6 separate regions of the Homo sapiens genome follow, and regions 2, 3, 4, 5 and 6 are each linked to region 1. The links are contacts of gene promoters, found by promoter capture Hi-C in human tissues and cell types (Jung and others, 2019). All regions are on one chromosome and are shown on one strand. Each heading gives the region's core, a stretch centred on a gene start or on the middle of the fragment in contact. The rest is flanking DNA. Distances are from core to core; before and after follow the strand shown. Region 1 holds the start of ZNF704 (zinc finger protein 704). Region 2 overlaps ZNF704 (zinc finger protein 704). Region 3 overlaps ZNF704 (zinc finger protein 704). Region 4 has its middle 11 kb from the start of PAG1. Region 5 overlaps ZNF704 (zinc finger protein 704). Region 6 overlaps ZNF704 (zinc finger protein 704).

Region 1 (2,700 bases), core at 183-2,682:
CCCAAGGCGCAGGCAAATCAACAGTTCCTCGCGCTGCCCCGCGCGGCCGCCCGCGCCGCCTGACACACCCCTCCTGGCCGGGTCTCTCCCCGGCGCCGCTGACCGTCCTCGGCCAGGCGCCTTGCCCCGGGGCCCGGGCCCGTCCCCCTCCCCGGGCTGGCGGGTCCCACGCGCGCCACCGCGCCCAACACGCACCTTCAACGCGCCCCGGGCCGGGCCCCTGGGGACTGCGTGGCCGGGTCCGAGGGGCACGAAACGCTCCTCGCCGTCCTCGTCGTCTTCGTCGCCGTCCACCACCTCGACGACCACCTCCTCGTCCTCCTCTTCCTCGTCGTCATCCTCCTCCTCCGCGCCCCCTCGGGGCTTCTCCTCCACACGCCCGAGCCCCCTCCGCCGCCTGCTCCCGCCCTCCTCGTCCTCGTCTTCCTCCCCTAGAAGCAGCAGCACCGGCGACGAGGCGGCGGCGGCGGCCCCGGTGGCCCGAGGGGGGCCGGTCCCGGCGCTGCGCGGCGGCGGCGGCAGCGGCGGCCTCCAGCTCTCCGGGGCGGGCGCCGGGGCCGGGCCCGGGACAGGGGGCGGGAGCCCGGGTAGGGCGGCTTCCTTGGCGGGCGCGGGCGCCGGCCCGGCAGGCTGCAGCGCGGCGCCCCCCCGGCGGCTGCCCAGGCTGGAGCGCTTGGCTAGACGCCGCGCCTGCATGCCTGAGCGCGGGGTTGCGGGCCGCGGCGCGGGGCCGGAGAGTTTGTCACCTCCTCTTCCTCCTCTGCCTCCGCCGGTGGCCGCAGGGCCGGGGACTCGCGGCCGCAAGGGGCTGCAGGAGCCGCCGGCCAGGACCCGCGGCTGCCACTGGCTGCAGAGGCGCGGGCGCCGCCTTCGCTGGACCGGCCGGCGGGGACGCCGGCGGCCGGCGGCTACGGCGGGGCGGCGCGGCGGCCGCGGGCGGGGGTGGGTGTGAGCGAGCGGCGCGCTGCCGCCTCCGCCGCCGCCGCCGCCGCCCGGGAGCCGCGGGCCGCGCTGCGCTCCATGCGGCCGGCGGCCGAGCCCGCGCGCGCCTCTCCCGGCCGGCTGCGCCCGCGCGCTCCGGGCCTACCGCTGCCGTGCCTCGGCGCGAGCTGTTTGTGTTGTATGTTTTCCACCACCGCCCCCCTCTTCGCGAGCCATTCCTCACAACCCTCCGGTCCCCCCGCTCAGACAAAACCCGGACTGGATTTTTTTTTTCTCTTACCCACAGTCTCCGAAAGTCTGGCGCTTCGAAGCAGTTGGCCCTGACACCAGGGCAAACGCTTAACCGCAGCCCATTCTTCCCTCCGGAGGGAGGGGAGTAGACTTCGCTGGAAGTAAGGTTGTCTGTCAAAGTTAGACTTTGAACGTAGAGATTTGCTACAAGTCATTTTAATGGACACTGATGTGCATGGCAGCTACTCCTGAGCTTGTGTGAAATCAAGGAAGGTGTACCAATCTGAGGTTTGGGATGAATTCCTAATATGAATCATCAGAGTCGCTTAGATTTTCGAAACACTGTTTCATGAGCGATTGTCTACCAATCTCACACTCTTTGAACGCACCACTCTAGGCCCTGCGATTGAGCTGCCTTGGCTCTGTGCTGAGTGTGTAGGTCTTTCAGCTTTTACTCCTGCTATTCTACCTTGAGTGCCTGATTTTAATGGCTGAATTCCAAGAAGCTTTCTGTTTGCACTGTCTGATCTGTAGACTCTCTTCTGGCATTGTTCAGGACTTTGAAGAAACAAATGGGTGGGAGTTCAAGATCGTTTGAGTTGGTTACTTAAGAAATTAATATGAAGTAAGACCAAATCTGGAAATCAAGCACATAACATGACTAATTTTGCCATTTTCTGACGATTTTTAGGTGTGATAAAGAAAATATATTTGCTATTGCGTGGGGTTAGGCTATGTAGTAAGTGGTATTTCTTCTTTTATTTATTTTAATTTTTATTTATATATATTTCTTTATTTTTCAGATGGAGTTTCGCTCTTGTTGCCAAGGCTGGAGTGCAATGTCATGGTCTGGGCTCACTGTAACCTCCGCCACCTGGGTTCAAGCGATTCTCCTGCCTCAGCCTCCTGAGTACCTGGGATTAAAGGCGCGCTCCACCATGCCATGCTAATTTTGTATTTTTCGTAGAGACAGGGTTTCACCATGTTGGCCAGGCTGGTCTCAAACTCCTGACCTCAGATGATTTGCCTGCCTTGGCCTCCCAAAGTGCTGGGATTACAGGTGTGAGCCACCGTGCCCGGCCTTAAGTCGTATTTCTTACATTCAAATCATACCCCCAATTCCATCCCTGTAGAGGAGGGCTGGGGAGGATCTTACGCATCAAATACCCTGGTAGGCACCTCCGTGGGGCCAGAATAAAAGGTGTATTCACCTTCAGTTAATTATTGTTGGACATTTAACATCATATGCTCTGTTAGACACTTGAATGGGGCTCATTAAATGCTCACTTATGGTGGCTTCCAACTGTTGAACAGGGATGATGACAAAGATTCTAAAATGAACTTTTTGTTCTCCCTGAATCAGATTAGCTTCCTGATGTACCTATTTCAGGTGATGAAACTCTCATTATAATCATTTGAGCCCAAAATAGCGGTATCATTTTAACTCCCTTCTCTACCTTATCCCTAGAGGCAATTGCCCACAAGTCCAACCCATTGTTCTTTCTAAAATGCATTTTGAATCCACCC
Region 2 (2,700 bases), core at 53-2,552, 240 kb before region 1:
TCAGTGACTATCCCAACACCATCAGGACTCTGATGTAAGATAGAGTTTAAAATAACTTAGTCCATCTAAATGAAGGAAGCAACTTCTAATTTTTTTCATGACATAATTTATTCTCATTTTGCTTTCCCCTCAAAGATGCTAGGGTTTTGTATGTGGAAAAACCTCCTTTTGAGGTTAGTGGACACTCTGAAATAGCCTAAATGCCTACCAGTTCTGAAGCAAGGCTTCTGCTGTATCAGAGGTGAAGCAGTGGTAATTTTACTTGGTAACGAAGACTCATGAGGCCGGATGGAGAGGGAAGGAGTGTGGGGAGGCTGGCCAAGGGCTTTGGCACAAGGAGGCAATGTGTGCTCGCTTCAAGCTTCAGAGGCTCCTGGCAGCCTTCTCGGAAGGCACGAGGCTGCTCTTTGCCAGCCCCTCATCACAGTGGCCACGGTAGAAAACACTAAGAAAATTAGGATAACAGTGATTCAACACTTTACGGGGCACAGCCTGGGCATGCCAAAAGGAGGCAGAGTGAGAGAGCTGGATAACTCAGCGTATCTATATTCAAGTCTGCCATGAGAATGATATCTGGGGAGAAATGATCTCTTTCCCCTCTTTTATTTTAGTTGCCCAGATAGTGCCGACATGTGAGTTTGTGGGGCTGATGGATGAACCTGACCTGACAACTGTGGAATGTGAAATCCACTTTTCCCAATAGTTGAAACTGGGGGCTGCAGGCTGCACCTGTCTGTGTACAGCTTCTCTTTGGTCTGCACAGTGTTGGCCAAGAGTTTGAGTTAGTTGTCAACACTTACGTGTCAGGTAATATCATACTTCCACGTCAGAAGATCTAGCAGCCCTGGGCCTGATTTCTGCATGGTTCTGATTGTCTAGAGCTGAGTGTGGGCACCCCTTCAAAGAGGGCATGTGTTCTGCAGTTCAACCTGGTCTCCACCATTCTTGTGTTCCTCTTTGCCTTATCCACATCAATCATTTACAGAACTTGCCTGGTCCTTCTGAGGCACTGACATTTGCAACCTCTCCTATATAGAATTAGGAATCTTTTGGAAATGAGACTCATTGGGTTCAAAACCGTACAGCAATAAAAACTTCTTGGGGACTTTAATGCTAACAATGGAGACATTCCAAGGAGTGAAAACAGAGATTTGCAAGACGCCTCATCTCAAAGACTAGGAGCCAAGCCTGTACATGGCTTTCCCTAACTCTGTGCATTTCTAGTCCTCAAGTGTGCAGATTCTAAAGCCTATTTGAAACCAAGGTCTGAGTGACCTTCTGACCACCTCATAAGAGCTGCCCAACGGGTGTATGGCTGTTCTATCTCAGCTTTGCTTTTGATGTTATCTGCATACTTGGCTAATTAGGCTAGCTTTTGGATTACTAAAATCTTAGAAAGAAAAGGTGCTTTCTTGTTTTAACAGTGAGTGGGCTTGAAAAAACTGTACAGCATTATGAAATGGTTTTGGCAAAGCTCTGAATTATTTGTACAGTTTTAATAAACTCTTCACAACTCCCCTCTGTTTCCTGGTTCTTGGGAACTCAGTCACTTTCTGATCACAACCTCATGTGCCTGCTAGTTCTTCACAGTGAAAAATCAAGCACTTGTTCTTTTTGTTTTGTTTTTTTATTTTCCTTTTTTATTTTTTCCCTCCACTATATTTTGGAAGCACTTGTTCTTATGTAGAAATTACAGTTATATAGTTAGTGCTGAGGACAAAATTATTTTAAACACTACTGATCACCTAAGAATTCTATCTTTGGGCCTGTCTACTATGATTTTAGAAATTTCCACCAAATGATACTTGCTAGTTAAATGCAAGTATCTGTGATTCTGGTAGGTCAAGTGGTAAACTTGTCTTTGTGACACAGAATTTATCATTTTACACTAAAAAATTTATAAGAATATTTCTCCCATGGCCTATAAGCATACCTGTTAACACTTTTTAGATTTAAAATATATAAAATGACTCTTCAGGCATCTTTTTCCATACTTTGAAAACACACTAGTAATGGTAAAAGGAGTAGCTGTTGCTATCTTGATTCTCCTATAATACCCATTCCATCTGATCTGTATTTCTACCCTTGCTGCAGAGGGTTAATTAAAAAGATATGCATCAAAACATTTGCTTAAAAGAGACATAGCCCTTTGTTTGGTGAGCAAGAATTACTTATAATATTAATACTTCCTGCCTGGTAAAATACTATATTTTAAAAAATAAGCTACAATGTATAAAACCAAGGTCATTTCTCACAAAATGTCTGCGTTCTTTGTGATTACAAAACACTGCATCTTGTAAAATATTTCCAGTTAACTTGAGAAGTAGAGTACTGACGCTTATTACCAAAGTGTCATGTCTCTTAGAACTGTAGAAGCCTAATCAGTGTATTTCTTGTTTTATTTGGAAAATTAAGTTATAATTGTTTTTGTATTTAAAGGTTATGTTTTGCCAAGACATATTACCATTGTGATTCTCAGACCCACAACAAAAGTTATAAAACATGAGATTGTCTTCAAAAAAAGGAACTATTTACAAAACAGGACCAGAAGTAAAATTCCCATTTTGGTTCCTGGTCCTACGATAGATATACCTTTTAAAGCATGTATATCATTGGATATGGGCTTTTTCAAAGTCAGTCATAATAAGCAAACCAGTTGGTCTTAAATACATTTTATACTTTCTTGCTCTATTGGTGTGC
Region 3 (2,700 bases), core at 97-2,596, 130 kb before region 1:
CCTACTTATAGACTCCAGGGAAAAAGAAAATGACTTCTGTTAAAATGACTCCTATTAGGCTCTGGAAAAGGGAAGAGCTGGGCAAACTGAATGCTAATAGGGCTTGCTTCCAGTGCGGTCTACAAGGACACTTTAAAAAAGATTGTCCAAATAGAAATAAGCCGCCCCCTCGTCCATGTCCCTTATGTCAAGGGAATCACTGGAAGGCCCACTGCCCCAGGGGATGAAAGTCCTCCGAGTCAGAAGCCACTAACCAGATGATCCAGCAGCAGGACTGAGGGTGCCCGGGCCAAGTGCCAGCCCATGCCATCACCCTCACAGAACCCCGGGTATGCTTGACCATTGAGGGTCAGGAGGTTAACTGTCTCCTGGATGCTGGCACGACCTTCTCAGTTTTACTCTCCTGTCCCAGACAACTGTCCTCCAGATCTGTCACTATCCAAAGGGTCCTAGGACAGGCAGTCACTAGATACTTCTCCCAGCCACTAAGCTGTGACTGGGGAACTTTATTCTTTTCATATACTTTTCTAATTATGCCTGAAAGCCCCACTCCCTTGTTAGGGAGAGACATTCTAGCAAAAGCAGGGGCCATTATACACCTGAACATAGGAGAAAGAACATCCATTTGTTGTCCCCTGCTTGAGGAAGGAATTAATCCATCCTGAAGTCTGGGCAACAGAAGGACAATATGGACGAACAAAGAATGCCTGTCCTGTTCAAATTAAACTAAAGGATTCTGCCTCCTTTCCCTACCAAAGGCAGTACCCTCTTAGACCCAAGGCCCAACAAGGACTCCAAAAAATTGTTAAGGACCTAAAAGCCCAAGGCCTAGTAAAACCATGCAATAGCTCCTGCAATACTCCAATTTTAGGAGTACAGAAACCCAACAGACAGTGGAGGTCAGTGCAAGATCTCAGGATTATCAATGAGGCTCTTATCCCTCTATACCCAGCTGTACCTAACCCTTGTACTCTGCTTTCCCAAATACCAGAGGAACCAGAGTGGTTTACAGTCATGGACCTTAAGGATGCCTTTTTCTGCATCCCTGTACATCCCAACTCTCAATTCTTCTTTGCCTTTGAAGATCCTTCAAACCCAACGTCTCAACTCACCTGGACTGTCTTATCCCAAGGGTTCAGGGATAGCCCCCATCTATTTGGCCAGGCATTAGCCCAAGACTTTAGCCAGTTCTCATACTTGGACACTCTTGTCCTTTGGTACGTGGATGATTTACTTCTAGCCGCCCATTCAGAAACCTTGCTCCATCAAGCCACCCAAGCGCTTTTAAACTTCCTTGCCACTTGTGGCTACAAGGTTTCCAAACCAAAGGCTCAGCTCTGCTTACAGCAGGTTAAATACTTAAGGCTAAAATTATCCAAAGGCACTAGGGCCCTCAGTGAGGAATGTATCCAGCATATACTGGCTTATCCTCATCCCAAAACCCTAAAGCAACTAAGAGGGCTCCTTGGCATAACAGGCTTCTGCCGAATATGGATTCCCAGGTATGGCAAAATAGTCAGGCCATTAAATACACTAATTAAGGAAACTCAGAAAGCCAATACCCATTTAGTAAGATGGACACCTGAAGCAGAAGCGGCTTTCCAGGCCCTAAGGAAGGCCCTAACCCAAGCCCCAGTGTTAAGCTTGCCAACGGGGCAAGACTTTTCTTTATATGTCACAGAAAAAAAATAGGAATAGCTCTAGGAGTCCTTACACAGGTCTGAGGGACCAGCTTGCAACCTGTGGCATACTTGAGTAAGAAAATTGATGTAGTGGCAAAGGGTTGGCCTCATTGTTTACAGGTAGTGGCAGCAGTAGCAGTCTTAGCCTCCGAAGCAGTTAAAATAATACAAGGAAGAGATCTTATGTGTGTGGACATCTCATGATGTGAACAGCATACTCACTGCTAAAGGAGACTTGTGGCTGTCAGACAACCATTAGCTTAAATATCAGGCTCTTATTTGAAGGGCCAGTGCTGCGACTGCGCACTTGTGCAACTCTTAACCCAGCCACGTTTCTTCCAGACAATGAAGAAAAGATAGAACATAACTGTCAACAGGTGATTGCTCAAACCTACGCCGCTCGAGGGGACCTTCTAGAGGTTCCCTTGACTGATCCCAACCTCAACTTGTATACTGATGGAAGTTCCTTTGTGAAAAAAGGACTTCAAAAAGTGGAGTATGCAGTGGTCAGTGATAATAGAATACTTGAAAGTAATCCCCTCACTCCAAGAACTAGCATTCAGCTGGCAAAACTAATAGCCCTCACTCGGGCATCAGAATTAGGAAAAGGAAAAATGGTAAATATATATACAGACTCTAAGTATGCTTACCTAGTCCTCCATGCCCACACAGCAATATGGAGAGAAAGGGAATTTCTAACTTCCGAGAACACCTATCAAACATCAGGAAGCCATTAGGAGATTATTATTGGCTCTACAGAAACCTAAAGAGGTGGCAGTCTTACACTGCCGGGGTCATCAGAAAGGAAAGGAAAGGGAAATAGAAGGGAACCGCCAAGCGGATATTGAAGCCAAAAGAGCTGCAAGGCGGGACCCTCCATTAGAAATGCTTATAGAAGGACCCCTCTTATGGGGTAACCCCCTCCAGGAAACCAAGCCCCAATACTCAGCAGAAGAAATCGAATGGGGAACCTCACGAGGACATAGTTTCCTCCCCTCAGGATGGCTAGCCACGAAAG
Region 4 (2,700 bases), core at 141-2,640, 250 kb after region 1:
TTAAATTCCCCTCAAACATGTGATAGGAAACTTCAAAGTTTGTTTAACCCAGTGCTGAGTACATAACAAGTTCAATAATAAACATCTGTTGATAGTCTGATTCTCAACATATTTCCCAAGAAGCTTTATCTAAATGGCAAACACTGACAGAAATAATTATTTCCTGGAGTCTTAAGTTTACACACAGTTGGGACGCAGTCTCTGAGACAAAGCAGGTGATTTTTGTGGCCATTTCGCAGTTAAGTGAAATAGTCATGGCCCTTCTGTTCTACCTCTGGATGGGGCCTTTTTCCCAAAAGACACCAGGTAGATGTTGATGTGCATCTGTTCCGTACAAGCTCTGGTACATGTATGCTCTTGATTGAGAGACAGACTTGACTTTTCAAGAAAAGCTCTCAGAGATTGGCCTGACTTTGATTATTACAAGGGCATTTAATTTCAGGGAAGTCCAGAACAGTTCTTTTTTGAGATCCACCTATAGTAATTATAAACTTCTTGATTTCCAGAACAGTTCGTTAGCCAATCTGGACTCTTCTAGATTAGGGATGATATGGTCCACTCTAGGACCACCCTTCTGGGGCCACAGGAGAATTGAAGGAGGCTTGGTTAGGAAACAGTGACTTTGGTTAGGGAGTTCTGTGTCTGCTTCAATAAGAACTCCAAAGCACATTTTTCTTTTTTCACAAGGAGGCAAGCTAATAGTGAGATTCAGCCCTTTGCACAGTGGTCAACATGTGGGCTCTGGGGGAAGGTGCCCTAGGTTTATATGCCTCCTCTGACAGGCACTAGTATCTTTGTTAAGTTGCTCACCCTTTCTATATCTCAAGTGTCCTTGTTTTAAAATGTAGCAATGGCTTATCTTATTTAGTATTTAATAATATGTGAAATACGTATGCTAATCATAAACCTAATGGTTTTTAAACACTGGCATAGTCTCTGGAACCTATGAAATGCTCAAATCAGTACCGCTATATAGTACTTTGCCTATGCCAGGTGCTGCCTGTGCACTTTGTATCTGTAACTCATTTAATTTTCACAAAGGCAGGAGGAGATGCACCCATTCTCATTTTACAGATAAAGAAACTGAGGCACATACAGGCCAAGTAACCTGTCCAAGATCACACAGCTAATAAGTAGATTACTTCTATACATTTTAACCAGGCCATGTGGCTCCAGGTCATGTACTAAGTCACTATTTTCTTCTGCTTGTCCAGTAAATAAATACAATATTTTATTATTGTTGTTCTCCTTCCTGTCAGTTTTTTCAACTCTGTGACACAGCAATGACCTCTGCTCCTTCAGGCCGTTTGTCCCAGGAAAAGCAGCAGCTGACTCTTCCTCTTAGTGAGCCACTGTGATCCATGCCAAGCCATTTGCCACTCTCATGATTCCCAAGATGAAGGGGAAATGGTAGCAGGAAGGGCCAAAAGTCTGCGTAGATGGAGTTATACTTCTGCTTAGATTCTGGTACTCTCCTAGCTACATAAACTCGAGATTTTCTTTGGGCTTTAATTTCCTAACTTACAAAATGCCAGACTCCAACTGGAACATTTCTATGCATTTTCCATATCTAGAATTGCACAATGGATAGTGTATTTACTTAAACTTAACAAACATTTACTGAATACCTGCTCAATGCAGAGCATTATGTTCTTTGCTGTGGACAGAAAAAGAAATGAATAAATAGAAGCCACGCTCACAACCACAAGGAATTTTTATCTAGGATGGCGGGCAACAGTATAAGTAACCATGATGGAACACCCTATGTGAATTGGGAAGACCTGGGTTCAAATATCATTTTCTGTTTCATAACTGTGTATCACCTTAGACAAATTATTATTTTAACCTTAATTTTCTCATTTGTAAAATAGGCTCGATAATACTTTTCTCATGAGATTTGGATCATTGATTGTACTTGTAAATGTTCTTAAAAGTATTCAAAGAATGCTTTCGAAAATACATTACTGAAAAGAAAGAATATAGGGATATCAGCAAGAAGAATATATACTATGAGAATTTAAAACTGTATATGGGATCATGGACTAAATTAATTTCCTTCCACCATTTTCAACATAACTAAGCAAGATTTCAGATTGCAATATGCATCGTAAACGGCATAAGGATTTAAAATCTAGACACCAAACAAAAATTTTTCATTAAGCCCTCTTTTAACTCACAACCCACAGAAATCACCATATGCTTTTGGTGGAAGATGTGTTTCTACTCATGCATGGTTTGTGTGAGGTCTTTTGTGAAGATGGCCAAGGATTGTACAAGTTGCCTGCTATCTCAAAATCCAAATTTCTGTAAGAGGCAGCAACATGTATAGGAGTAAAATAAATAAATAAAATGTATTTTTCAATGGTAAGCAAAAAGAGAAGAAGCCTTTCTTTTCCACACTTGATATTTTCTTCCACGTAAAAGGGTATTGACTAGCATAAAATGCATGGAGCCTCTTCTCCTGCTTACTCGTTCCTACCCAGAGAGGGTGACTCAAACCAATAGGCTGGGTTGAAAGAAGAAACAGGGCATGTACAGCCTGCATCCTCTTCTTCTCATTTCTACACTGCTCCTTCTCTCCTGTTTGCATTACAGAGCTGGGTCTGCTCCTGAAGAGGGAGACGTGGCTTGGTGCAGTGCTCCCTGCAGCAGAGAAGAGGAGCCAGCCTATCTCTATGGTGCTGTGCTGACATGCCGGCT
Region 5 (2,700 bases), core at 157-2,656, 220 kb before region 1:
AATTTAAAAAAAAGAACAAAAACAAAACGTATTTGGAAAGTTCCCAGTATAAAAAAAAAAAGAATTTTAAATTATAGTCTGTAAAAATTGTGACTAATCTCTCCCATGTGTTGAGTATATCTGTGTTACAGGAATCAATCCTAAATAGGGAGGAGCCGCTTTCTCTGACCCATTATACAGTGCTTAGACACAGTAAAGGCAGCAATGATGGTAGGAAATCTGCATTGTCAGCTACATGCCAGGCACTGTGTGAACGACACAACTCTAAGAGGTAGAACTAGAGTAGAGGATATTACTTTAGAAGGATCACATGGCGTTCACAAATGCCAGAGCCAGGATTTGCAAGTAAGCCTCACACTAAAGATGCTGTGCCCTTCTGTAAGTATGCAGGAGAAATTTCTTTTCTTGTAAGTTTTTCTCTTAAGAGGGAGGAAAAAAAGGCCTCTGGCTTGGTTTTAACCTCATATAATTCTGAATCTTCCCTCAAGGCATTAAAAAAGAAACCTCAAACCAGCTAAGCATTTGACAAATAAGCACTGCTATTTCAGCTTTGGAGACCCTCCCCAACAGCCTGAAGCCTCCTAGAACTTGGATAGCAGGTTGACTAGCTTATACTTGCTTTCCTAGGGGCTGTTATAGATCGAATGTTTGTGTCCCTCAAATTCATATGATAAAGCTCTAATCCCCAGTGTGGTTGTATTTGGACATAGGGCCTTTAAGGAGGTCATAAGGGTGGGGCCCTGACCCAACAGGATTAGTGTCCTTTAAGAAGGGATAGCAGAGGCTGGTGCATTCCTCCATGCTTGCTCTCCCTGGCTTGCCAGTGCCCTGGCATGTGCTTGTGCTCTCTCTCTCGATTTCTCTCTCTCTCTCTTTCTCTCTCGACTGTGCATGCACAGTGAGAAGGCAGCCATCTACAAGCAGGAAGGGGTCTTCACCAGAACTGAATTGGCCGACACGTTGATTTGGACTTCTAGCCTCTAGAACTGTGAGAAAATAAATTTCTGTTGTTTAAGCTGCCAAGTCTGTGGTATTTTATGGCAGTCTTGAGCTGATTAATAAAGGGGCCAACGGCTCTTAGTTTTCTGTCATGAAAAGAGAGAGAAAGAAATGGAGATAATTAGGAGAGAAGGCAGGTCATTAGGGAAAAACATGTCAAAGAAAGTTGTAATTAAGGATGTTCTCTTTCCTACCCCTCTCCCCACAGCCTTAGGCTACAAAAGACTGAACTTCCAGTTACATTTGTTAAATATGCAGTTCAGCCTTCTCAGCTACACACCTCCGGGAAGAGGTCTTACCCAGGGAACTTATTAAAGTCCAATGTTCAGGAAATCTAGCATAGGCAAATGAATAAATAAAATCCTGCAACCCTTGGGATTTTTCAGAAAGGGGTTTTTCTCACTTTCTAGGAAGTGTACAAAAGTATCCCTCTTCAATACCACGTCTCAAAGATGTGGGAGAAAAGTGAACTCTAAACAGGGTTGACAACCTCAGGGTATTTATTTTAGAGTACAAGGATAAAGGTATTTTTTTTTTGAAAAGCATTTTATCACATGAATATTTCTCTGTTCTTCAGTTTGGACACAATTGAAGCCATCACTAATACAAATTCATTATAACTTACAACTTTTAGAGCTTTGGTCTGAAAACCCTATTACACCAATTTAGAGGGTAAGAATTCACGTTTTTAAATTCTACGTGGCTTGCCTGGCACTCCTGGAGCATTCAGGGACAGCTGCTGGCATGCTGTCCGTGGGTGTACAACAGTCCTGCATCTGTGTGGGTGGGCTGTTATGAGAGCTAGCCCACCAGGAGAAGGAGGAGGAGGAGGACAGCAGCACCTGCTTGTTTTTTTTAGAGCATGGCCAGAGAGTTTAGCAACAAAAAGAACATTCTTAGTTGTAGCCTTCTTGTCTTTCTAGGGTAAAACAAAAACCTTTGAAAATTCCACCCCACCCTTACTTTATCTTTAAATAGGAATGGCAAGCTTGACTGCTAAAATCAGTCTAAAGTCTTTGCTGAAACAGGTTACACAATCAGCACAATTGGGAATTCTCTGGTGAAAGAATAAATTAGAAGCTCTCAGCTGGGCGCAGTGGCTCAAGCCTGTAATCCCAGCACTTTGGGAGGCTGAGGTGGGCAGATTGCTTGAGCTCAGGAGTTCAAGACCAGCCTGGGCAACATGGGAAACCCCCGTATCTACTAAAAATACAAAAATTAGCCAGGTGTGATGGTGTGCTTCTGTAGTCCCAGCTACTCAGGAGGCTGAAGTGGGGAAGATGAGCCCAGGGAGGTTGAGGCTGCAGTGAGCCGTGATGGCACCACTGCACTCTAAGCCTGGGTCATGGACTGAGACCCTGTTTCAAGAAAAAAAAAAAAAAAAAGCTCACATAGGATTTTAGTGGAATACCTACTTAACCCAGCTATGGTATGTTTTATATATCATATATACGGAATGTTTTATATATCGTATATATGGTATGTTTTATATATCATATATATACTTTCTGTCAAAGCTTTTGTCTAGAATGTCCCAGGTAATCAACACAGAGTGAAATGAGGGATTCTGTAAAAAATCAAGGGCACTGAGATGAGGGTAGAAATACACAGTGTCCATAGCAGAGTTTTAACATTCTATTGTTGAAAAACGAGTGATATAAGGTATCCTGGCTGGTATCCTAGTGTGTAAGACACATAAGA
Region 6 (2,700 bases), core at 181-2,680, 150 kb before region 1:
AAGCCCTCCAGGGTGGCAATCAAGGTGTCAATTAGGAAGATCAGTGTTGGTGTAGCAAACAGTGAATGACCCTAAGTATCGAATAAAAACAATTCTTTTGCATGTGGTTTCCAATTCTTTGGTTTCAAGAAAATTGAAAGATAACCTAGAAATAATATTTGAAGATACAGTACTATGTCATATTTGACATGCTCTTGTGAAACCAGTTCAAATAACTGAATGATACTAATAACAAAACTACAAAGTTTTCTTCCCATTAAAAAGGGAATAAAATTAAAGCTGAATAGTGTCATTCCAGTAATATATAATATTTATCAAAAGATAAATGAATTTTAAAAGCTCCTCAATCTCATTAAGTCATGGTTTTAAGACAATTTTATTTTTTGTATTCACTTCTTCATCAGACTTTTAATTAATACATGTTGTGTTGATCAAATATCCACTACTAGTAACTGTAAGTATAACTCATACCAGAAAAAAACGTTAAACCGTCAGGATTATATAGTCAAAGGAAATGCAAAGTATTTTAACTGAAATTTACAAATGTGTTTTAGAGAAGTATGTGATTGGTAAAAAAACATTGAAATCATAAATAGGATAAAGTTCTGCGGAGAAAGTGAAATGGAAAATGAGTTAAAACAAAAAGAAACAAGTAAAATTTCTGCCAGTTAAAAAAGAGCTTATTTGTGTATTTTTAAAAATGGATGATGGTGAGAATCAAATCTCTATGGTATTTAGATTCCACTGGATAACCTTAAAAGTAATACTATATTTTTTTAGTTAAAATATCAATATTACATCCTTTTCAACTATTTAGACCTAAAATGTAAAAATCTAAGATGTCAACTTTAAAATGCGAGAGGGTACATGGTTTTCAAAATCCTTGCAGAGGATTCATGAGCAAAAAGTTTGAAGACCACCAATCTAGAACAGCCTGTCAGCTGTTAATTTTGGGCAACAGAATGGAAAACACTGGTTAATCCAGGGAGCCGACTGATAGATGTTCAACTGTTCCAACATTTCAAATGACCTTTAGCACTATTAGTTAGTTGTTAATGAGGGAAATGCTATTTGGTGGTGGCTCACACTGATTCTCATCAGCTTTTACACTTTCTAAAACCATTACAAGCCTTTTAGGTGGAACTGTATTATATTTACGCAAGTAATGTATACAAAAATGGTGTTGTTTTGAAGATTCTTAGATGGGATTACTTTTTCATAGTATGTCATCATCAATAATTATCTGGTGATGCTGGGACTTTTGTGATATTTTTTCTTCTATGCAATTCAAAGTACTTTCTCCATTATATTCAATTAGTCTTTAACAAATTCTGATGAAATATGTAGGAGGTAGTTTGACAGAGGTTAAGTGATACTCCTTTAGGGAGTCAAAGATGGTGTCAATAATAAATCAAATAAAACCCATGACTCTTCCTATCTATAAAAACATTCTGGATGCAGAACAGCAAGGTCATGTTAATAACTCAAAGTTTCTTCTTTAAAGCTCATGCTGGGTTTAAGCTCATCCAACCATATACCTTTTCTTTAGTTCACTTATGACAAATATATATCTGCGAACTGGCATTTCCCAAGCCCCTGTCTATTTTAATTGTATACACTATTCCTGGCATGTCTTTAACTCTCGATACTCACGGATGATTCCCCCAAATGTCTCTCCAGTCCAGACCTTCTAAAACTGTACTCCTGCCTGCCATTAATGAAACCTTCACTAAATGGTTGTAGAAGCCAGAAACTTAGGAGTTGTCAGGCTTCGTTCCCCTTCTTTCCTCCTTATACCCGACTGAACCCAAGTTCTACTGATTTTACTTCAACAAATCCCTAAAATCCTTCTCCATTCTGATTTTTCACCACCACTGCCTAATTCAGGCACTCATTGTCTCTCTGCCGAGTCCTTCCCCTCAAAACGATAACCCCTTAACTGATTTCCCTGCCCTAGTCTCTGCTCCATTCATTCTGCGCCCCACAATGCCGTTCAAGCAGTCTCTTCAGAAGTTAAATAAAATCATGCCATTCCAGGTCTGAACAATTTCCAGTGGCTCTCCACTGTTTATCATTTAAAGGCAGATTTCTAAGTGTGGTTTATAAAGTGTTTATGACCTACTCTCTATCTACTTTTAGAGCAACACCTCCTACCCCTTCACCAAAGTGCAAATGCTAAATCCTAGGACTTGAAGAATAAGACATAGTGTTTGTGTTACAAAGTGGTAGGGAGACACATACATATCACTATGAAATGTTAGGGCACTTAAATATTTTATTAGAGGTTCCAGCAAAGTACTGTGGTAGGAGGGCAGAAGGAGTATAGTGGGGAAGGCTTTCTGGAAAAAAGGCCAGTCCTTGAAGGGTTTCCTTAGGTTAAATTGTCAGATAAAACCCAGGACTTCCAATTAAATTTTCATCTCAGATAAATAACAAACAAAATTTTTGTATAAGTATATCCCATACAATATTGGAACATAAACAATGACCATAGATTTTTAGTTTATGTTAAATTCAATTTTCAGTGGGCCTCCTGTATTTTTATTTACTTAATACAGCAGCCCTACATCACGTATATGGAATTAAGAACAAGAAGAACATGGACACGAAAACACAAAGATTATGCCAAATTGTCTAATGCATTTGGAGTCTCAGATACATAGGGGATGGGGAAAAGAGGAAGTTATGGGAGACGATGCT

The links. Contacts are between HindIII fragments. The study calls those that stand out against the background at their distance.
Region 2: a contact is called between a fragment that was not itself captured here and the fragment with the promoter of ZNF704 in region 1, in 2 of the 25 tissues and cell types used here (dorsolateral prefrontal cortex and thymus).
Region 3: a fragment that was not itself captured here is called in contact with the fragment with the promoter of ZNF704 in region 1 in 1 of the 25 tissues and cell types used here (neural progenitor cells).
Region 4: a contact is called between a fragment that was not itself captured here and the fragment with the promoter of ZNF704 in region 1, in 1 of the 25 tissues and cell types used here (spleen).
Region 5: a contact is called between a fragment that was not itself captured here and the fragment with the promoter of ZNF704 in region 1, in 3 of the 25 tissues and cell types used here (dorsolateral prefrontal cortex, heart right ventricle and hippocampus).
Region 6: a contact is called between a fragment that was not itself captured here and the fragment with the promoter of ZNF704 in region 1, in 2 of the 25 tissues and cell types used here (dorsolateral prefrontal cortex and hippocampus).

The regions. Positions count from the first base shown.
Region 1 is chr8:80,873,349-80,876,048 of GRCh38, forward strand. It overlaps ZNF704 (zinc finger protein 704), which reads right to left and starts at 1,433. Exons shown (of 9, transcript NM_001033723.3): 1 at 1,223-1,433. RefSeq lists a silencer at 112-312. The HindIII fragment of the contact is 4,011 bases long and covers 1-2,700 here.
Region 2 is chr8:80,633,769-80,636,468 of GRCh38, forward strand. ZNF704 (zinc finger protein 704) reads right to left here. Exons shown (of 9, transcript NM_001033723.3): 9 at 1-2,700. Among named protein-coding and RNA genes, the nearest start is that of LINC02986, 95 kb to the left of the region's middle. The HindIII fragment of the contact is 4,995 bases long and covers 1-2,700 here.
Region 3 is chr8:80,739,660-80,742,359 of GRCh38, forward strand. The region is part of intron 2 of ZNF704 (zinc finger protein 704); the gene reads right to left. Among named protein-coding and RNA genes, the nearest start is that of ZNF704, 130 kb to the right of the region's middle. The HindIII fragment of the contact is 4,616 bases long and covers 1-2,700 here.
Region 4 is chr8:81,121,890-81,124,589 of GRCh38, forward strand. No RefSeq gene overlaps it. Among named protein-coding and RNA genes, the nearest start is that of PAG1, 11 kb to the left of the region's middle. The HindIII fragment of the contact is 6,141 bases long and covers 1-2,700 here.
Region 5 is chr8:80,655,327-80,658,026 of GRCh38, forward strand. All of the region lies in intron 7 of ZNF704 (zinc finger protein 704), which reads right to left. Among named protein-coding and RNA genes, the nearest start is that of LINC02986, 120 kb to the left of the region's middle. The HindIII fragment of the contact is 3,193 bases long and covers 1-2,700 here.
Region 6 is chr8:80,722,880-80,725,579 of GRCh38, forward strand. The region is part of intron 2 of ZNF704 (zinc finger protein 704); the gene reads right to left. Among named protein-coding and RNA genes, the nearest start is that of ZNF704, 150 kb to the right of the region's middle. The HindIII fragment of the contact is 8,276 bases long and covers 1-2,700 here.